Linked DNA regions of Homo sapiens: regions 2, 3, 4, 5, 6 and 7 are each linked to region 1. The links are contacts of gene promoters, found by promoter capture Hi-C in blood cells and fetal thymus (Javierre and others, 2016). All regions are on one chromosome and are shown on one strand. The core of a region is centred on a gene start or on the middle of the fragment in contact, and the rest is flanking DNA. Distances in the headings are between cores, read along the strand shown. Region 1 holds the start of GBP7 (guanylate binding protein 7). Region 2 has its middle 63 kb from the start of GBP6. Region 3 has its middle 44 kb from the start of GBP6. Region 4 overlaps GBP6 (guanylate binding protein family member 6). Region 5 overlaps KYAT3 (kynurenine aminotransferase 3). Region 6 has its middle 9.7 kb from the start of RBMXL1. Region 7 has its middle 28 kb from the start of GBP6.

The links. The method cuts DNA at HindIII sites, captures the fragments that hold promoters and counts their contacts. A CHiCAGO score of 5 or more calls a contact.
Region 2: a fragment that was not itself captured here is called in contact with the fragment with the promoter of GBP7 in region 1 in 6 of 17 cell types (activated CD4 T cells, naive CD4 T cells, M1 macrophages and 3 more); the score reaches 11.1 in activated CD4 T cells.
Region 3: a fragment that was not itself captured here is called in contact with the fragment with the promoter of GBP7 in region 1 in 5 of 17 cell types (activated CD4 T cells, total CD4 T cells, total CD8 T cells and 2 more); the score reaches 11.9 in activated CD4 T cells.
Region 4: a contact is called between a fragment that was not itself captured here and the fragment with the promoter of GBP7 in region 1, in 8 of 17 cell types (activated CD4 T cells, total CD4 T cells, neutrophils and 5 more). The highest score is 10.3, in activated CD4 T cells.
Region 5: a fragment that was not itself captured here is called in contact with the fragment with the promoter of GBP7 in region 1 in 1 of 17 cell types (activated CD4 T cells); the score reaches 6.8 in activated CD4 T cells.
Region 6: a contact is called between a fragment that was not itself captured here and the fragment with the promoter of GBP7 in region 1, in 1 of 17 cell types (activated CD4 T cells). The highest score is 6.4, in activated CD4 T cells.
Region 7: a fragment that was not itself captured here is called in contact with the fragment with the promoter of GBP7 in region 1 in 3 of 17 cell types (total CD8 T cells, total CD4 T cells and activated CD4 T cells); the score reaches 6.5 in total CD8 T cells.

The regions. Positions count from the first base shown.
Region 1 is chr1:89,174,464-89,177,427 of GRCh38, forward strand. It overlaps GBP7 (guanylate binding protein 7), which reads right to left and starts at 1,540. Exons shown (of 11, transcript NM_207398.3): 1 at 1,458-1,540. The region is part of intron 3 of LOC105378842 (a long non-coding RNA gene); the gene reads left to right. The HindIII fragment of the contact is 1,918 bases long and covers 1-1,911 here.
Region 2 is chr1:89,426,046-89,429,009 of GRCh38, forward strand. No RefSeq gene overlaps it. Among named protein-coding and RNA genes, the nearest start is that of GBP6, 63 kb to the left of the region's middle. The HindIII fragment of the contact is 865 bases long and covers 1,012-1,876 here.
Region 3 is chr1:89,406,818-89,409,781 of GRCh38, forward strand. It overlaps the pseudogene GBP1P1. Among named protein-coding and RNA genes, the nearest start is that of GBP6, 44 kb to the left of the region's middle. The HindIII fragment of the contact is 1,657 bases long and covers 683-2,339 here.
Region 4 is chr1:89,381,739-89,384,702 of GRCh38, forward strand. GBP6 (guanylate binding protein family member 6) reads left to right here. Exons shown (of 11, transcript NM_198460.3): 7 at 1-236; 8 at 926-1,138; 9 at 1,914-2,016; 10 at 2,355-2,548. Among named protein-coding and RNA genes, the nearest start is that of GBP6, 19 kb to the left of the region's middle. The HindIII fragment of the contact is 8,356 bases long and covers 1-2,964 here.
Region 5 is chr1:88,970,438-88,973,401 of GRCh38, forward strand. The region is part of intron 2 of KYAT3 (kynurenine aminotransferase 3); the gene reads right to left. Among named protein-coding and RNA genes, the nearest start is that of KYAT3, 21 kb to the right of the region's middle. The HindIII fragment of the contact is 1,659 bases long and covers 696-2,354 here.
Region 6 is chr1:89,000,840-89,003,803 of GRCh38, forward strand. No RefSeq gene overlaps it. Among named protein-coding and RNA genes, the nearest start is that of RBMXL1, 9.7 kb to the left of the region's middle. The HindIII fragment of the contact is 3,251 bases long and covers 1-2,964 here.
Region 7 is chr1:89,334,486-89,337,449 of GRCh38, forward strand. No RefSeq gene overlaps it. Among named protein-coding and RNA genes, the nearest start is that of GBP6, 28 kb to the right of the region's middle. RefSeq lists an enhancer at 2,713-2,964. The HindIII fragment of the contact is 2,183 bases long and covers 442-2,624 here.

The DNA of each region.
Region 1 (2,964 bases), core at 290-2,789:
CACGTTCACATTTAGATCTTTGGACTGAGCAAAGCTGAGCTCGCTGAGCTCATGTATATAGTAGTAGTAATCTTCACCTGGGAAACATTGTGTTATACATATCTCTATACTTTGAAACATAGATACCATTCTAACCCATTCTTGGTCCTGATTTCTTGCAAGCCCCTCTGTGGGCAGGGTCTGGTCAGACTGTGGGACTCAGGTTACCCAATGGCTTCCTCCTCTCACTGTGCATCAGCATTCACACGTTATTCATGCAAGCCTGATAGCTCGCACCTGACACTTACTCTGTTGATTTTTGACTTGATTATGTTAACAGATTTTGAATTCTCTGCATTTGAAGATTGATTCTTTATTACCTCCATGTATATCAGTCTGCATATTGTTTTTAATTATTTCATGTAATGAAGTCACAGCATGAAACATTCTTTGAAAAACCATGGCTTGTTTTTTGTCTGATCTCTGCTGTATAGAGAGTAGCATATGCACAATTGTAATCATGCTATCTTTATCCAGGGCTTGATAAATTAAATATTTTGATAATTTTGTAAAGTTAAAAGGAGTGAAAAGCCTTCTTGTAGTGATGCTTTAATTTTGTGTTTTTAAGTTGAATGTCTCAATCCTTGTAACTTATGTGATCATGATACAAAATATATAATCTCTTTAAGATACAAGCAAATATAGATGATAGATACTGCAGTTTTCTTTTTTATCCTATAATAAAGAGTGGTTTGTTTCCACTATAGAGTTGGTTACTTCTGACTTGTTCCTCTGGAGGTTTATATTAAATTATCTGGCTTCCCATCACTTCAGCAGAAGATGGAAAAAAAGCCGTTTATTTTTCTGTGATCATGACCCATTTCCTCTTATAGCAATGGCCTACAGGATCTGCTGGCAAGCAAGAAGGGCAAACCAGAAACTAAAAAGATTGGGTATCTATGGAAGATGAGTGAAAACAGAGTATGCGTCTGTCCAATTCTGTAGCATATACTATGCTACCATAACATAGGAATCAATCAGTCACCGGCTCAGAAAGGTGGTGGCACAAAGATGTTATAAGGTCCTGGATTATAATAATGTGTTGCCTCTTTTTGCAGATCCCAAGTTGCCTACCTTCATTTACCTAGAGCTATAAATGTTGGGCCCAATAAAGAAAGTGACAGAGCCTATTAGGCAGATATTTAAAGATAACAGTAATTTAAGATGGTGTCAGAAAAGAAATAACAATCTTAGAACACTGGCTTCTCTGAATATCTGTTCCACCTCTGCTGAAGCCTAATCTGACACAGCAGGAATTAGAGCACACTAAGGTACACACAGCCACCTAAGAGGCCAGGATTTCATCTGGACTTGTATCCTGTAGCTGGCTCAGCTGCAGCCTATCTTGGGGATGGTCAACTTAGAGAAAACTAATGGATCCTTATAAATCATGAAATCCTTATAAGTCATAGTCTTACCCAGAGTAGAGATCCTCTGGACTTGGTAAGAAGGCAGCTTCAATGAGAAAGTTATGAGTCTTTATTCTCTTCTCTTTAGTTCTGAATTTGGCTGCACTGATTTCTCCCACTTTTTTTCTTGCTGGAACTTTGGACTTTTACCTTACCTCTCCAATGTCATGGGGCTTTCCAGACTTTCTAGAGACCTGTATTTATACATGTAAAAAACAATGCAACCTCTGCAAATAAATAGAGTAATATGACAGTCCATGATTTAGCAACAATAAAAGAAATTGCTGACAGCTGTGCTAGTGAGAGGATTTGACATAATTTCTCAAACAGAATCTTCCAATTTTATTATTGGAAGAGATCTTAGAGACAGCTTGCGATTATTAAAAAAACTTCAATGAATCGTTTAAAATAATGACATTCATCTCATGTTTGTGGGCCACATTGAGAAGTACAGGAATAAGAAAGCTTAATATAATATTATTTAGGTTCAATTGGCTTGAATATTAGACTCTTAAAATGGAACTCATTATTTGTGTTTAATAATGAGGACTCTAAATGCCCTGAAGGAATGTCCACGTCTTATACATGTTTGAATTATTAGCACCTAACTCAGGTCTTGGCACTTAACATTTAATAAATAATAATGAAGATAGTACCCGTTTTGTTTACATAGATTATCCCATTGTATTCTTATCACAAATACTTTTACCACAATGTTAAAAGAGGGATTTAATAATTTATTACAATTACAGAGCTACTAAATAAGATTTGGGCCCAAGAAGTCTTGCTGTCAGTCACTTCATTAAAATACCTCTGTGTTTGCTGAGTGTACAATAACAATGTTTTCTCCTTATCAGTTCCATTCTAGGCCATATTCTTTACACATACCATTTTAAATATCAAAATACCTCAAGATAAAGGTTGTTTATTATCCCCATTGTCCAAGGGGGAAAAATAATCAGAAAACGGGTAATTAATATGTCTAACTAAAGCCATTGAGCTACACACCAAGGTAGCAAGTAATTGAGCGAGATTCAAACTTGAAAATCCATTTGGTTAAAACCACATTGATTCTCTACTGCACATTGTCTCTAAAAGAGAGGAAGGTGGGAAGCGGGGAAGAGAGAGAGAGAAATGGAGAGCAGAGAGTAAGACTTCTCTGTGTGTGTGTGAATATTGATGAGATTTAAAGTGAAAGTAAGGCAGGGTTATTTCAAAACAGAACTATTGCTAGGAAATCACCTGCTTCTAAGTAATAAAATCTATTGTTTATATCATGCAAACAAAAAATAGCCCCAGGCAAAATTGAATCTTTGTGAATCATGTATAATTTAAGGGTACATAAATTTATAAGAAAAAAAGATCCCACTTTCCCAACTTGTGTTTTTTTTTTTTGAGACAGAGTTTCTCTCTTGTTGCCCAGGCTGGAGTGCAATGGTACAATCTTCGCTCACTGCAACCTCCACCTCCTGGGTTCAAGCGATTCTCCTGTCTCAGCCTCCTGAGTAGCTAGGAT
Region 2 (2,964 bases), core at 194-2,693, 250 kb after region 1:
AAATCATTGAATGTGGAAACCAGATAGAATATTTCAATTTTCCCGATGCCACACTTTATTCAGCCTCCGTTTGTCCCTCTTTAGGAACAAGAGCGACTACTAAAAGAGAGATTTGAAAACGTAAGCAGAAGAATCCAAAATGAGATACAGAATCTCCAGAGGACAATGATACAACCAAGGACATGTACCATAAACTAAAGACCAGAGCCTTCCTGTCACCCCTACCCAAGGCATAATTGAAACAATTTTAGAATTTGGAACAAGCGACACTACATTTGATAATAATTAGATCTTGCATCATAACACCAAAATTTATAAAGGCATGCAGTACAATGATCAAAATCATGTTTTTTCCAAAAAAAAAAAGACTGTAAATTGTGCAAAAAAGATGCATTTACCTCTGTACCAACTCAGGAAGGTTCATGAGCTGGTACCACCCAGGAGTTTATTCTTCCAGATGACCAGCAGTAGACAAATGGGTACTGAGCAGAGTCTTAGGTAAAAGTCTTGGGAAATATTTGGGCATTGGTCTGGCCAAGTCTACAATGTCCCAATATCAAGGACAACCACCCTGGCTTCTTAGTGAAGACAATGTACAGTTATCCATTAGATCAGGGCTACACAGTCTATGAGCAATAATGTGATTTGTGGACATTGCCCATGTATTGTCCTCACTGATGATTTCAAGCTAAAGCAAACCACCTTATACAGAGATCTAGAATCCCTTTATGTTCTCCAGAGGTAGGTGGAAGAAACCATGAGCAGGAGCAGGAATTGAGTGATAAACAAATGGGCTAAAGAAGAAAACTTTTCTTCTTGTTCAGTTCATCCAGATTATAACTTTAATGGGACACTTTAGACCATTAGACAGTTGACACTGGATTAAACAAAGTCACATAATGCCAATTACACACTGTATTTATGGCAATGTATAATTTGCAAAGATTGACTTTAAAAGATGCTGTGTAACAGAATTGAATTAATTCAATTACTTATTATTTAGAATGCTAAAGCTTATGCTAGTCTTTTCTAATTCTTAACACTCATACTTGAAATCTTGCTGAGTTTCCCCAGAAGAGAATATCGGATGTTTTTTGACATTTTTGACCCATTTAATAATGTTCTTGTGTTTACTTAGTATACATAGACTTTATCTCATGTGTCAAAAGTCCTAGGAAAGTGGTTGATGTTTCTTATAGCAATTAAAAATTATTTCTGAACTGTAAATACAATGTATTTCACTAGGCTTCTTATTTCTGATTAAGTTTTCTTTTTGCAGTTATTTTTGTCAGAAAAGAAGGTTTTAGTCTTTATAGCAATGGTTGGCAATCTTTTCTGAAAATACCAGATAGTAACTATTTATGACTTCGCAGGTCATACAGTCTGTCTCAAGTACTCAGCTCTGCATGTAGTGCAAATGCAGCCATAGAAAATACATAAACCAATAGGTGTGGCTATGTTCCAATCAATTTTTATTTTCAATAACAGGGTGGCACCCATAAGCCATAGTTTGCAGAACTCTGATTTACAGACACATTGGTCAAAGTTTTATATACCGGCCTTGTGTAACTCACACGTACAAAAATCATATGGATTAGATTATATATATTAGAATCTTGAAAAAACTATGTGGTTATTCAAAATAACACAGTGAGAAAAAAGGAGGGAAGCAGTTAATGCCATTAAATCCACATTAATAATTCTGTCTTTTCTAATTGCTTTGAGGCCTTTTATTACCTTGAGCTACCTCTGATCCAATCACATGGCAAATGCCTCCTTTCATAATAGAGCATGGTGCTGTTTCCTCACTTGAACTGAAACTTCATAGAAGACCAGGTGAGACCACAGAATACTAGATGAAATGTTCATGTAGGTAAGCTTTATATTTTCTTCCAAGCTCCATTGCTACAAAGGTGTAAATAAAATACATTTTTATGAGTTGAAGTAACTTCATGGTAGAAAATAATAACTCTGCCTTCAAAAGCAAATAATGGTTTCTTTGTTAACCAATAAAGCATAAGAAAATGAAAAATCAGCAAAACTGAGTTACTTCCTCCCCAGTTTGGTAGCATTAATATTTAGACCACATTCCAAAGCATCTGACTTGGTTTAGTACTTTTCTCTAGCATATGCCAGAATAGAATCAAGCTCTCTCCAGGGAGGCATGTTGCTTTCCTGCCCTTAGACCCTCCAATGGTGTGCAAGTGTGCAGGCTATGGTGAGTGGGGCCAGGAAATCACCAGGCCCCTGGATGGCATGCTTGGGTCCCAGTGGCAGGTGACCTGGGCCTGCTGTCAGACTTCCTGATGTTGCATGCACATGCCCACAGCTACAGTTGAGGCAGCATGATCCCCAGGCCCTGGGCAGCATGTTTGCATGGTGGGTGGTGTGAGAGCCTGTCCTCAGGACACAGAACAGTGTCTGGGTAGACCAGCTCCAGGACCATTGGAGGCACATGCAGATGCTTGGTGGCCCTGCTTCCGGTGGAAGGTTGAGAGGGTTGCTGTTGGTGGCAGTGGCCCCAGGCAAGTGGCTTTCAGAAACTGAGGAGTGTGCATTTAGGCTCCCTTTGTCCTGGGGGCAGCCTCCCTGGTGTGGTGCACTGCTGTTCCTTACTGCACCACTGGATTCAGCCCACGGGACAAAGTTGCAGCCCTCTGGGTGGAAATGAAGAGATGTCCGCAGGGTTCCAGGGACGTGGAGATGATGGGGCTGTTCGCCCCAGAGCAAGATACAGTCTGATGGGGGCTGGGCTTTCAAAATAGTGCTGCACGGCAGCTCCTTGAGTCTTGGGAGTGTCAGTTACCTAAACCAATGCAGGCCGTTTGCCTGATTGCAATGGAAAGCCAAACAAGGAAGCACAAGGATTTTTTAGAGGGAAAGGTTTATTTTTAGTCGACTAGGAAGTAGATGGGAGAAATGTTCAAATTTGTCTCTCAGATCTGGGGGTTGGGGCAGGTTTTA
Region 3 (2,964 bases), core at 261-2,760, 230 kb after region 1:
AGTATATTTGCTCTCTATACACACATGTACAGATGGTTGATTGTTTTTCTAGCTTGCAGGTCTTGCTTCCATTTGATATGAGACTCAGTAACCCCAGCTGAATCACTGAATCCCTCTTGCTATGAACTCTACAGCCGGCTGCATAGAGCTCTTTGTGTGAAAATAAGCTTATTATCAAAACATTCCACACCTGAAATTCAGTCTGTTCATTGGATGCTAATATCAAGACAATCTTTGAAATCACTAGGCATATACACATTAATTATTGCATCATGTAATAATACTAAATTGTGAATTAATTTTATCTGTGACTATCTACTAGAAGGATTCCATAGACTGCAAACCAAGTGAACTGAAAAGTGAGGAAATGATGCTTCCTCATCCCCACCATCTAAATGAAAAATTCCCTACTTATTTTTTTCCAGCTGTCTGACTTTTTATGTCAGACAATGTGTTAAATATGCCCTTTCCTTATTTACCGCACCTCTAAAAGAATAGGCAGCTCCATTGTGAGTGTGTCTATTATTTTAGGAAATTATAGCTGAAAATTAACATGATGCCTCCTCATTCTAGGATTCTCAAACTGACTCAATCCATGAGACATGTATCATTGTATTCAAAACCTAATGGGCATTTTGTTAGACAACAAATGGTCTCTAAGATTTCCAACAAAAAACTTTGAAGCTTCTGGTTGAGCAATCATTAAACCCTCCCACTGGCACACTCCAGTAATTTCATTTATGGTAGTGGACTTGAATGAAGTACTTTCAGTTTCATATTACTCTAAATCCATTACAAATATGCTTAACCTTTAAATATTTCATCACTGAAGAAATCCCAGCCCTACAACGTTGGAACAGTAAAATATTAGTCCAAGGATCCAGTGAGAGACACAGAAGTGCTAGAAGCCACTCCTCATGAACTAAGGAGAAAAAGAACAGGTAAGAACTTTTACTACTTCTCATTAAGCAGCTTTCTCTTTAGCTCCAAAGGATCTCAGCTCAGGGATATGGAACCCATAAGGTTGTGGCAGGGATGGGAAGGAATTTATAAAGGTCAGTTCATTTTCTTAAACATCGTCAGAACCAAATTAGGCTGCAGATGAGCCTGAAGTGGGACGCAGGTCAGATGAAATCCTGGTGTTATCAGGGACAGCATGGCCTTAAGTGACACTACAGTGTTTGTGTTGAATTAGGCACCAGTAGACAGGGGCTAAACTGAGAGTTTGAAATGCACTAGGATAGTCTTTCTCTTTGTTGTCATTCTCTGTGTTGACTGGAGACATGATTACATTTCCATTATCAGTGATGGAGCTTGCTGAATCCTGCTCCTATGCAGCTAAGAAATGGAAAGAGCTACAAATGGGTTCTTTTCATAAGGAAAGAACAGCAAATGAGAAGCAGAGTAATCAGCCCACTGACATGGTTAAAGACAAAGAAAAAACTGAAACTCAGCCTGAAAGATGAAGATTCATGAAAACAGTATACTTTTTATTACACTTGTGAACTTCGTTTCAGAATGGATTACTTTCTTTAGAAATAGTCCAGACTCACTAATTTCCTAGTGCCCACTGATCCCTGTCCCTTAGAAGTGAAATTCAACCCCACTGCTTCACTAAAGTGCTTCCAATTTTGTCTTCTTTTAGTAGAGACTGGGGCCTAAAGTGTTTCCTCTTTAATTCTCCTGTAATGCATCTCTAGAGAAAATATCTTTGCTTATTTTAACCTCTCTATGCAATCAGACTACTTTAATCCTGCCTTCTGGAAAGTCCTCGCCTGAATTCCTTGTCAAGACACTAGCCTCATTCATCACCTTCTGGTCTGATAGCTCTTTCTCGCTCTCTCTCTCTCTCTCTCTCTCTCTCTCTCTCTCTCTCTCTCACACACACACACACACACACACAAACACACACACACCTTCCCAGCCCCTTCTCCTCCTCCTCTCCACTCCTACTATTCCTCCTCTATTTCTCTTTCTCCTACCCTACCAAATGGAAAACAGAACAAAACAGAAATCCTAAAGCTGTATCGCTGGAAATATATTTCATTTGAACAACTTCCTAGGTAGCTCTCTTTATCTGCCTCTTGATCTTTTAATCCTTATTTCATTATCTGGGGGAAACATTCAGCATTTGCAATTTTGCATTCATACCCTCACTGAGTTAGAGGCTACCTTATTGTGACTCTAACGCAGCTTAAGTTTCAGGGCCCTTCTCTTGGACATGACCCTTCAGAGTCCTTGGAAGGTTCCTCAGCCATGTGTTTCACATGTTTGTATAGTTTTCTAAAATTTGCAAAAGTATGTTACGTTGTTTCCACTTCCAGAATGGCACCGTGAAAAGCTTTATTGATCCTCATTGCGGTGAAATAAGCATAACCACTTGAAGATGGAGGAAGGAACACATTTAAAAATCTTTGGAAATTGTTCTAAGGGTAAACATCAAACTATGAATACTGATTCACTGTATTATTCACTGTAAGAATTAATAAGTAAATCAATATTGAATTCCTTATACACAGCCAGGATGCAAAATAAATCCTCTAAATCCTGTTCTATCTTCCATTAATTGACTAGTGAAAATATTTAAAAAGAATCCAAAAAGAAAGTTTTCCACTATAAATTAAATGAAATATTTGAGTTGTGAGCATAGTTGAGTGTTGATGAGGCAGGAAATTAAAGAAAAATACAATTAAAAATAAAAAGAAATAAGTTTTCCTGTATTAGGCTGACTTGTCCCAGAGGCAGCAACAGGCACAGACCAGACCCAGGAAAAGTCTTGATAATACTATCTAAGGTGCTCTGGAGACTCTCCCAGCACTCCCTCAACATAGGAAGAAGAAAAATAAATTTTCCTTTGTTTTATGGAAAAGTTTGTAGATTCCTGTTCTCTGTAACTAGTGACTTCAAGTATTCTGTTTTATCTAAGAAGTAGAGTGAAGGTCATGAGAAGCCTGAATAGGCCTG
Region 4 (2,964 bases), core at 338-2,837, 210 kb after region 1:
GAGCAGTGCCTTGTCTGGAGAATGCAGTGATAACTCTGGCCCAGCGTGAGAACTCAGCGGCCGTGCAGAGGGCAGCTGACTACTACAGCCAGCAGATGGCCCAGCGAGTGAAGCTCCCCACAGACACGCTCCAGGAGCTGCTGGACATGCATGCGGCCTGTGAGAGGGAAGCCATTGCAATCTTCATGGAGCACTCCTTCAAGGATGAAAATCAGGAATTCCAGAAGAAGTTCATGGTAATTTGCCTTAGTCATTACTGTTCATCATCCTTCCCCTTGAAGAATGAAGCCTATAGTTGCCTTTATTGTCACCAATGCTCATCTGTCACTGAGGAATAACTTATTGTGGATTCTCATGAGGGATAGAGTTTCAAAAGACTACATATAAGCACTTAACTAGAAAATCTTCTGATAACTGAGGTAAAATCAATACAGATCACTTAAGATCCTCAAGTGAACACTTCTAAGGATTCCAGGCCTGCTCTGAACACGCACAAGTCATCCCTGAGCAGTGCACTTTTTCTGTGCATAGTTTACCTTTCCCAGGAAACAAAGATTCTCTTACCAGATCGTAATTCCGGGCCATTGTTCAACTTACATTGCTCCTTCTTGTATCCTTGTACCATTGAGGACAGGAACACAGGATGATACCATTGCAACAAACCATAGAGATTATGGAATGTAGTCTCATCATGTCACAGATAAGGAACCTGAAGCTCAGGAAGATTAATGAACTTTTCCATAGCCTTGAAGAGAATTTCTAGCATTGTAAATGTATGAAGTTTTGTGTTTCTGATTCCACATCTACTCCACTAGAATGTTTTTCTCATGAGGACCACAGTTAGATTGACTCTACCACCAGATTCTTTAGAATTTCATCTCCTCCATGTTTCTTCTGGTGACATCTCTCTACATTTCCCTTGCAGGAAACCACAATGAATAAGAAGGGGGATTTCTTGCTGCAGAATGAAGAGTCATCTGTTCAATACTGCCAGGCTAAACTCAATGAGCTCTCAAAGGGACTAATGGAAAGTATCTCAGCAGGAAGTTTCTCTGTTCCTGGAGGGCACAAGCTCTACATGGAAACAAAGGAAAGGATTGAACAGGACTATTGGCAAGTTCCCAGGAAAGGAGTAAAGGTAAGGAATAAGGGGAGCATGGGGAAGTTTATAGGATAGAGTGAATGGAGTCTTCAGCACCAGCCGTGGGTAATAAGAGAGCAGAGGGATAGCATAACGCCTTAGCTTTCAATGTCCACTAATTAATATTTATTTCTTAGAATAAAAATTTTTATTCCAAAACAAAGAGTATAGTATTCAGAAATCCAGGAGAGACAGAATGAAAATTACCACCTAGGTGGTGGTAATAAACATAATAGTAGTAATAATACAACTAACTCACGAGCTGTTATTACCTACAGTATACTGTTAAATTCTTCCCCAGACATTTTAATTTCATCTTCCTAATGACTTTAAGAAGCACCTTTATTTGGAAATTTTACAGATCTGAACTTAGTACCCAAGGATGATTACATAACTTGCCTAAAGTTCTAGCCAGCAAGTGGCAGGAGAAAGCAACAGCATAGATTAGAGGCAGCATTGCACACTGGAAGACAGACATGTATAAGCATCAGAGATTGGGAGTTTGTACACCTGTGCACATAGTTCTGCCTGGCCGGAACCCAAAACGGGTACAGGGAGATATTACAGCAGTGGGAAAGGCACTGGAGGGAGACAGGAAGCAGGAATTGAGGAGGGGCTCTGGTCACCCTAAAGAGCCCGCACACTTTGTAGGGGGCCACTTTAGAATTTTAGGCATAAAGCAAAAGTTACAAGACCATAATTGTTCTTGCAACACTAATACCCAGAACATAGATTTTCAAAGAAATCTAAGTGCTTTTTCTTCCTTCCATAGGCAAAAGAGGTCTTCCAGAGGTTCCTGGAGTCACAGATGGTGATAGAGGAATCCATCTTGCAGTCAGATAAAGCCCTCACTGATAGAGAGAAGGCAGTAGCAGGTATGGGGCAGGGCTCAGCTTACACAGGAGGGGTACGTTTATACAATGCCCTCTAACAGATCTAACAGGAAAACCTTCCCAAAATGAGGAATTTCCTCTTCTGTGGAACACACACTCTGCTAAATCTTAAAATAACAAGGGGAGCTATGATTGTACATCAGCCAGACAGGCAGAGCCTTTCCCATCACATTCTCAAATGCGCTCTTAATGGTGTGGACCTGGGTGAATTCTGTGATTTCTCACCCTGCCTTTCAGATTTGGTTTAGTCTCAGCTCAGAAAAGTGGAGATGAATCTTCACCTATTATTTTCTTCTCTTTCTAATACCTTCATGGAGCAGTGGATCGGGCCAAGAAGGAGGCAGCTGAGAAGGAACAGGAACTTTTAAAACAGAAATTACAGGAGCAGCAGCAACAGATGGAGGCTCAAGATAAGAGTCGCAAGGAAAACATAGCCCAACTGAAGGAGAAGCTGCAGATGGAGAGAGAACACCTACTGAGAGAGCAGATTATGATGTTGGAGCACACGCAGAAGGTAAGTCTGCCCTTGGCCTCAGCAGGCCAGACGGTCCTCACCCAGGTACCTCAGGAAGGGCTGGTGAAGGTTACAGCAACATCATGAAAGGAAGCACATCACCATTTGCTGCTTGGCAATCACTAAAAGCCCTGAATCCTTTTTTTCTTAATTGTTTCAGTAAGACTTGGAATTCTTCTCTATATTCTCTATACTTAGATTCTGGAGAGGTAAGGTTGACTATGATCCCTACAAGTCCTTGGGGAATATAAATAGGGTCGAAGCTGCTGTTTTGGGAGATTTTAAAAGTAATCTCAAGAAGTTAAACATATGTTCCACACAGTGTATTTGATGTGAACAGCAGCTGGTTTCCTTCACCAAGACCACATATTACCAGGAGCTCTAGTACCATCCAAACACCCTGAGGTAGATCCATG
Region 5 (2,964 bases), core at 275-2,774, 200 kb before region 1:
TTTAAACCCAAACAGGTTCAACTCAGGATCTGAACCCAGACAGTCTGACTCCAGAATCCATACTCAGAACTATTATATAATTTTATACTGTGTTTTATATAATAAGACCTTCTAAAAATATTACTAGAATGCTGCCTCTTAAAAGTATATTATAAATTTAGGATAAGCCTACTAATACCAAGCAAGCTAAGGCTGTAGTAGAAAAATAGGAATTAAAATTATCACATAGCATACAATTTTTTAGTTCTTTAGATTCTAAAATTGAGTTTTATACTATCTCCCAAAAGTATTGAATTAGCTTTGAGTTCATTGTTAACAAGCTGGTAGAAATAAAAAAATGATTGACAGCATTTTTGCAGAGAATTTTCTAATGGAATATTAATGTAATTTTAATTCAATCTGGGAAGATAACGATAATGGTTATTAAATAGACCATTGTTCTCATTCTATTCTAAATAATGGGACCAAGAAAAATACCTTTTTTAGTGTCATATTTTGTCTTTGAAACTCCAGTGAAGTAAATCACATGAAAATTCTCCAGAGGTTAAAAAGCTTGCTGGAATAGCATTATAATTACCCACCTGAACATGATGCCATTCTAGAGACAACAGTTGTACAACTACCAAGTTCTAGCATGATAGGTTGAAATATCTATCTTAACAAATGCTCTTGTCTATCTCTAACACAATGTTTAAAGCTTAATTCATTCAGTAGAGACCACAAACACAAAGGATGATTTATACATAAAAAAGTGAGTTTGATGTGCTGTAGATAATTTAGACACAAAATCCAACTTTAAATTATTTAGATAATTGAGGTTGAAATGCACTTTCAGGTTTAATTTTCTTTAAAATTTGTTTCTAGACTGGCCTCTTCTCTCATTGTTCTTCCTGCTTCCTCTTCCCTCCCAATTCTATGCCACACCCATTCTAATTTTTCAAATAGTCTATGTTCTCTCTCATTTCAGTAGTTTCATGTGTGATCTTTCCTATGCCCAAATGCTCTTTCTATACCAATGTTTCTCAATGTTTTTTTTTATTATTGCCCACCTAAGGAGACCTTCTTAGAAATTCTTTCCTAGTCATCTTCCCTCCCCTCAATTAAATATTAAGAGGAATACAATTTTGTCACATAGGATTGAGCTTTGGATGGTGACAAAACAGTGTGATAGCTAAGATTTATCTTGTCTGCCAAGCACCCATTTTCTTCTCCTGGGGGAGATCATGCCCTTGTTGAGAGTGCATGTTCTCTACTCAGTCCAATTCCTGGTCCCCACCACCCTTCCTTGCACTTGGCTAACTCCTATTCCACTTGCCAAGTGCAGTTCTCAAATTCGACTTCATTCCCTCCCAAAAGCCTTCTTTGGTTCTACGAGTCAGGGTCAGGTGCTTCTCCTATGTGCTTCTATTAAATGCAGTACAGCAAGTCATCACTTAAAAGTGTCATATAGGTTCTTGGAAACTGCAGCTTTAAGCAAAATGATATACAGCATGACCAATTTTACCATAGGCTAATTGAGATAAATAAGAGTTCAGTTTCTACAGCATATTTCTGGTCACAAAATCACTACTATACTTCTAAATAAAGAATGAAACACTTCTAATATGAAACATTGAAATAAATGTGAGCTATACATACATTTATTTTAAGGAACTGGCTTATGTGTTTGTGAGGGCTGGCAAATCTGAAATCTGCAGAGCAGGTTGGAGACTCAGGGAAGAACGGATGCTGCAACTGGAGTCAGAAGAACTCCCTCTTCCTTGAGGACCTCAGTCTTTTCCTCTTAAGGTTTTCCACTGAATGAGGCCCACCCATATTATGGATGGTAATTGGCTTTACTGAAAGCCTACTGATTTAAACGTTAATCTCATCTAAAATACACCTTCACAGCAATACCTAGACTGATGTTTGGCAAATATCTGGGTACCAGGGCATAGCCAAGGTGACACCATCACAGTGTCCAACATATAGTTATGCCTAGCACATAGTTTCAAATAATTATCTGATGAATGAATTTTTTTAAAAAAACCTCACTCACATTACAGGGTGAACTTATGGTGTCAGTTAGCTCTATCAGTCAGCTAAAGTTCGTTTATGCTTCAGTGATAAATGACCCCAAAGTCTTGGTGGCCTAAAATCATAAAGGTTTTCTTGTTCATACTACATATCCACTGAGGTTCAGCTGCTGCCCTGGTCTGTGTCACTGTCATTCTGAGACATAGGCTGATGAAACAGCCTTCACCTGGAACACTGCCTGTTTCATGGCAGAGGGAAGAGGCTCTTAAAAGGTTCTGTTAGGATGTGCACACATCACTTCTTTTCATATTTTATTGGGCAGAGCAATTTCACAGCTAAGCTTCACATCAGTGGGGCAAGGAAATGTAACTGTCCAGCAGGGAACAGCAGCAAATAATTGTGAAAAACATGGTGGAAATGAAGTCTGGAGGTATAATGAGATACGTGGTTGCTATGGGTTGGACCATGCCCCCCTTAGTTTCATATGTTGAAGTCCTAACTCCCAGTTCCTCCGGATGTAATCTTATGTGGATATAGGGTTACTGCAGATGTAATTAGTTAAGATGAGGTCATTAGCGTGAACCCTAATCCAATATGACTGGTGGTCTTATAAAAAGGTGAGATCTGGACATATACATAGACCCTGTGTGAAGATGAAGGCACAGACTAAGGTGATGCTCCTACCAGCCAAGGAATGCAGAGATTTCCAGGCAATCACCAGATGATAGTGGGGGTGGGGTATAGAACAATCTTATTCACAGCTCTCAGAAGGAACTGGCCATGCTGATACTTATCTCAGACTTTTAGCCTCCCAAACAATGAGGGAATAAACTGCTGTTATTTAGTAAGCCACCTAGTTTGTAGTACTTTGTTAAGGCAACCTGAGGGAACTAACACACTGGTGAAAGTTTACAAGACACTATACAATGTTCGGAGTCACCAAGATTC
Region 6 (2,964 bases), core at 269-2,768, 170 kb before region 1:
GATGAATCCCACTTGATTGGTGTGCATTATTTTTCTATATTGCTGGATTTGATTTGTTAATAGTTTGTAGAGGATTTTTGCATCTATGTTTATGAGGGATAATGGTCTGTAGTTTACTTTTGTACTGTATTTGTTTAATTTTGTTATCAGGATGATGCTGTGCTCATAGAATGAATTGGGAAATGTTCCCTTTTATATTTTCTGAAAGAAATTATTAAGAATTGGAATTATTTAAAAAATGCTTAGTAAGGTTTGCCAGTCAAGAGGAACTATCTGGATGTGGAGATTTGTTTTTCAGATTCTTAACTTTTTTACTCCATTTCAGTTTCTTTAGAAATTATATGACAGTTCAGGTTATCTATTTTAACTTGGGTGAGTTTTAGTTGCTTGTTTGTGCTTTTTTCAGAAATTAGTCCATTTGAGTTGCAGAAGTTATACACATAGAGTTGTCAGAATGTTGAAATGTTGATTTTTAGTTTTACTATTTAATGCATCAAAGATTAAAAGTATTTCTTAAATCTTGATGTTTTTTAAAATTTTTTTGGTAGAAACACTTTATTTGGCTTTGTTGATTCTTGAGCCTGGTCATTTGTAAGACTGATTGGACAGGTTTCACTGAGGGATTTCTGCCTTTTTTTTTCTTTTTTTTTGTCAGGATCTCAGTGTTTGATGTGCTCCTTCCCTGTGGATCAGAGGAGCTTGTATTTCCTTTCACTAAACTCAGAGAAGGAAAACTAGCAACTTATTACTTAAACAAGAGAAGAAATACTTCTGTAAACTGAAAATATTTTTGGCACAGAGACACATACCATACAGGCCAGCAATTTTAGGCCTTAAGCTATGGTAGCTTCAGCAAACAGGAAATGAATAAGGGAAACCTGAAGCACCTTGTCATACAGATAGTGAGAAGGCTACAGGGTCATTCCAAAAGGATTCCAGAGCCAACTTATTCAGGCTCCCAATGGCCAGTACTCCTGGTTGTAGATCCAGGAACAATGCAAGAAAATCATAGCATTGCATTGCCATTTTCTTGTCATTGTTGCACTCAATGACACTCTCAGACCTACTATGTCAGAAAGTCAGAGGAAGGGTAGGGGCCAGGGAATCTTTATACTTAATAAGGTGATTTTAATGCATATCAGGATTGAGGAGCACTGGTGAAAGCAACATGCCTCCTTGGACAGTGAGCTTTATTTGATTCCTGGAGATATTAAAGAAAAGCACTAAATCAGAAGTCAGATGATATGGATTTGGGTCAGGACATTGATGCTACCAAACTAAGGAGGAAGTAACTTAATTTTGCTGAGTTTATAGTAGCCTTGAATGATCTTTTGTATTTCAGTGGTGTCAGGTTTAATACCTCCTGTTTTGTTTGTTAGTGAAGTTATTTGGATTTTCTCTCTTCTTTTCTTAGTTAATCTTGCTAATGGTCTATCAATGTTATTTTTCTTTTCAAAGAACCAGCTTTTTGTTTCATTTATCTTTTGTAGTTTTTTTCAATTTCATTTATTTCTCTGATCTTGGTTATTTCCTTTCTTCTGGTGGGTTTGGGTTTGGGTTTGGTTTGTTCTTGTTTCTCTAGTTCTTTGAGGTGTGAACTTAGATTGTCTGTTTGTGCACTTTCAGACTTTTTGATGTAGGTGTTTAGGGCTATGAACTTTCTTCTTAGCACTGCCTTTGCTGTATCCCAGAGGTTTTGATAGGTTGTGTCATTATTGTCATTCAGTTTGAAGAATTTTTTAATTTCCATCTTGATTTTGTTTTTGACCCAATGCTCATTCAGGAGCAGGTTATTTAATTTCCATGTATTTGCATGGTTTTGAAGATTCCCTTTGGAGTTGATTTCCAGTTTTATTCCACTGTGGTCCGATAGTGTGTTTGATATAATTTTAATTTTCTTAAATTTATTGAGGCTCATTTTATGGCCTATCATGTGGTCCATTTTGGAGAAAGTTCCATGCACGGTTGAATAGAATGTGTATTGTGAGGTTGTTGGAAGAAATTTTCTGTATGTATCTGTTAAGTCCATTTGTTCCAAAGTATAGTTAATCCATTGTTTATTTGTTGATTTTCTGTCTTAATGACCTGTCTAGTGTTGTCAGTGGAGTATTGAAGTCCTCCAGCATTATTGTATTGCAGTCTATCTCATTTCTTAGGTCTATTAGTAATTATTTTATAAATTTGGGAGCTCCAGTGTTAGGTGCATATATGTTTAGGATTGTGATATTTTCCTGTTGGACAAGCCTTTTATCATTATATAATGTCCCTCTTTGTCTCTTTTAACCACTGTTGCTTTAAAGTTTGTTTTGTCTGATATAAGAATAGTTACCTCTGGTCGCTTTTGGTGTCCATTTGCATGAAATGGCTTTTTCCACCCATTTACTTTAACTTTATGTGAGTCCTTATGTGTTCGGTGAGTCTCCTGAAGACAGTGGATAGTTGATTGGTGAGTTCTTATCTGTTCTGCAGTTCTGTATCTTTTAAGTGGAGCATTTAGGTGATTTACATTCAATGTTAGTATTGAAATGTGAGGTAATCCTTGCGTTCATCGTACTCTTTGTTGCCTGTGTACTTTGTTATTTTTTTGTTTTTGTTTTTTGCTTTTGCTTTTTACCTTGTATTTTTGTTTTGTAGGTCCTGTATGATTTATGCTTTAAAGAGGTTCTGTTTTGGTGTGTTTCCAGGCTTCGTTTCAAGATTTAGACCTCCTTTTAGCAGTTCTTATAGTGGTGGCTTGGTAATGGTGAATTCTCTCAGCAATTTTGTCTGAAAATGACTGTTTCTTTCCTTTACGTTTGATGCTTAGTTTTGCTGGAAACAGAATTCTTGGCTGATAATTGTTTTGTTTGAAGAGGCTAAAGATAGGGCCGCATTGCCTTCTGGCTTGTACGGTTTCTGCTGAGAAATCTGCTAGGTTAGTCTGATATGTTTTCCTTTATAGGTTACCTGGTGCTTCTGTCTCAC
Region 7 (2,964 bases), core at 283-2,782, 160 kb after region 1:
AGATTGAGATGCCATCCAAGAGAACAAGCCCCAGATAAACATGCAAATATATAAAAGCATCAGAGATTTTGGATTGCACAATTGGACATAGTTCTGACTGGCTCGTACCTAGAGCAGGTGGAAGGAAGTAGTACAGGGAGTAGAACAGGAGGAAGACAAGAAGCAGAAGACCGGGTTGGTCTCTCATCACACTAAGGAGCTATCATGAATTATAAGGGATTCCTGAAGCATTATAAGCAGAAAAAAAAAATGACATGGATGAACCTGTTTGTAGAGAACAAATCTTCCTAGTGGAAATCTAAGTTCTTTGCTCCATCTTGTTTCTTCAGGCAAATAAGTTCCTTCAGCATTTCCTGAAGTCACAGTTGGCAATGGAGGAATGCATCCTGCAGGCTGATAAAGACCTGAACTATAGTAGTCAATCCACAATCCCTGCAGGAAAGCTTAAGGGATAATGCCCATGAACCCTAATAAAGGCATAGTCCCACAGGTCTTCTCTGTTTCTTGCTTTCTTTCCCCCAGCTCACTGGTTGAGTTCTCTGCCACTTCCAGACTTCCCATCTGACTCCTAATAGTGGCCTATCCTCTCTGTGGTCTGTAAGTAATACATTTCCCCTGTTTTATGCACTTTGGTTCCACCTCCTCATTACATCTTACTTCCCTGATATACCCAAACCCAACTCCCCACTACCTTCAACCCACTGAGGGCTCTCCTAGAGAGTGGCTATCTTGGCTTATGACTACTCTCAACAGAGAATAGTCAAGGTCAAATTAGAGAGAAACCAAACAACAAAAATCAGAGAGAAAGCAGAGCAAGATGGTCAGTTTGAACCCTCCAGAGACCATTACCCCTACCTAGCAACACCAAATTAAACAACTATCCACACAAGAAAGCACCTTCAAAAGAACCAAAAATCATGTGAATGATCGCAGTGCCTGGTATTAAAATCATATCAAGGAAAAAGACACTGAAGAGGGTAGGAATGATAGTCTTTAACTGCTGACATCAACCTTTCCCCATTCCCAGCAGTGGCCATGTGGCACAGAGAGAGAATCTATGTGCCTGTGAAAGAGAGAATACACACAGCCCTAAAGAAAAGGACAAAAGCCTGGCTGGATTTGTCACCAGCAGACTGAAGAGCCCTTGGGCCTTGTGTGAACATCAGCAGTAACCAGACAGTAGTTGCTGCAAGTCTTGAGCAAGATTCAGTACTATGCTGGCTTCAGGTTTGACCCAGTGCAATCCTGGTGGTGGTGATAAGGATGTTTGTGTCACCCTTCCCACAACTCCAGACAGCTCAGCATGGAAAGAGATATTCCATTTGTTTGGGAAAGTAAGAGAAGAGAACAAAAGTCTTTGCTGGGTAATCCATGAAATTGTACTGGATCTTACCTAAGACCACCAAAGCAGTGATGAAGGAGTTTTCTCTTGACCCCTTTGTTGGATTTGCACCAGGGGTGCCTGATATGGTTTGGCTGTGTCCCCACCAAAATCTCAACTTGAATTCTATCTCCCAGAACTCCCATGTGTTCTGGGAGGGACAAAGGGGGAGGTAAATCATGGAGGTCTATCTTTCCAGTGCTATTCTCATAATATGAATAAGTCTCATGAGATCTGAAGGGTTTATCAGGGGTTTTTGCTTTTGCTTCCTCCTCATTTTCTTTTGCTGCCTCCATGTAAGAAGTGCCTTTTGCCTCCCGCCATGACTCTGAGGCCTCCCCAGTCATGTGGAACTGTAAGTCCAATTAAACCTCTTTTTCTTCCCAGTCCCGGGTATGTCATTATCAACAGCATGAAAATGGACTAATATAGTAAAGTGGTACCAGTATAGTGGGGTGTTGCTGAAAAGATACCCCAAAATGTAGAAGTGACTTTGGAACTGGGTAACAGGTAGAGGTTGGAACAGTTTGGAGGGCTCAGAAGTAGACAGAAAAATCTGGGAAAGTTTGGAACTTCCTAGAGACTTGTTGAATGGCTTTGCCCAAAATGCTGATAGTGATATAGACAATAAGGTCCAGGCTGAGGTGGTCTCAGAGGAACTCAGAGGAGATGAGGAACTTGTTGGGAACTGGAGTAAAGGTGATTCTTGTTATTTTTAGCAAAGAGGCTGACAGCATTTTCCCAATGCCCTAGAGATTTGTGGAACTTTGAACTTGAGAGAGATGATTTAGGGTATCTGGTGGAAGAAATTTCTAAGCAACAAAGTATTCAAGAGGTGACTTGGGTACTGTTAAAGGCATTCAGTTTTATAAGGGAAACAGAGCATAAAAGTTTGGAAACCTTGCAGCCTGACTATGTGATAGAAAGGAAAACCCCATTTTCTGGGGAGAAATTCAAGCCTGCTGCAGAAATTTGCATAAGTAGCAAAGAGCCTAATGTTAATTCCCAACACCATGGGGAAAATGTCTCCAGCCCATGTCAGAGACCTTCAGAGCAGCCCCTCCTGTCACAGGCCTGAAGGCCCAGGAGGAAAAGTGGTTTCTTGGGCCAGGCCCAGGGTCCCAGTGCTGTGTGTAGCCTAGGGACTTGGTGCCCTGTGTCCCAGCCACTCCAGCTGTAGCTGAAAGGGGCCAACATACAGCTTGAGCTGTGGATTCAGAGGGTGGAAGGCTCAAGCCTTGGAAGCTTCCACATGGTGTTGAGCCTGTGGGTGCCCAGAAGTCAACAATTGAGGTTTGGGAACCTCCACCTAGATTTCAGAAGACGTATGGAAACTCCTGGATGCCCAGGCAAAAGTTTGCTGCAGGGGTGGGGCCCTCATGGAGAACCTCTTCTAGGGCAGTGCAGAAGGGAAATGTGGGTTCAGAGCCACCACACAGAGTCCCTACTGGGGAACTGCCTAGTGGAGCTGTGAGAAGAGGGCCACTGTCTTCCAGACCCCAGAATGGTAGATCCACTGACAGCTTGCACTGTGCACCTGGAAAAGCCACAGACACTCAACACCAGCCAATGAAAGCAGCCAG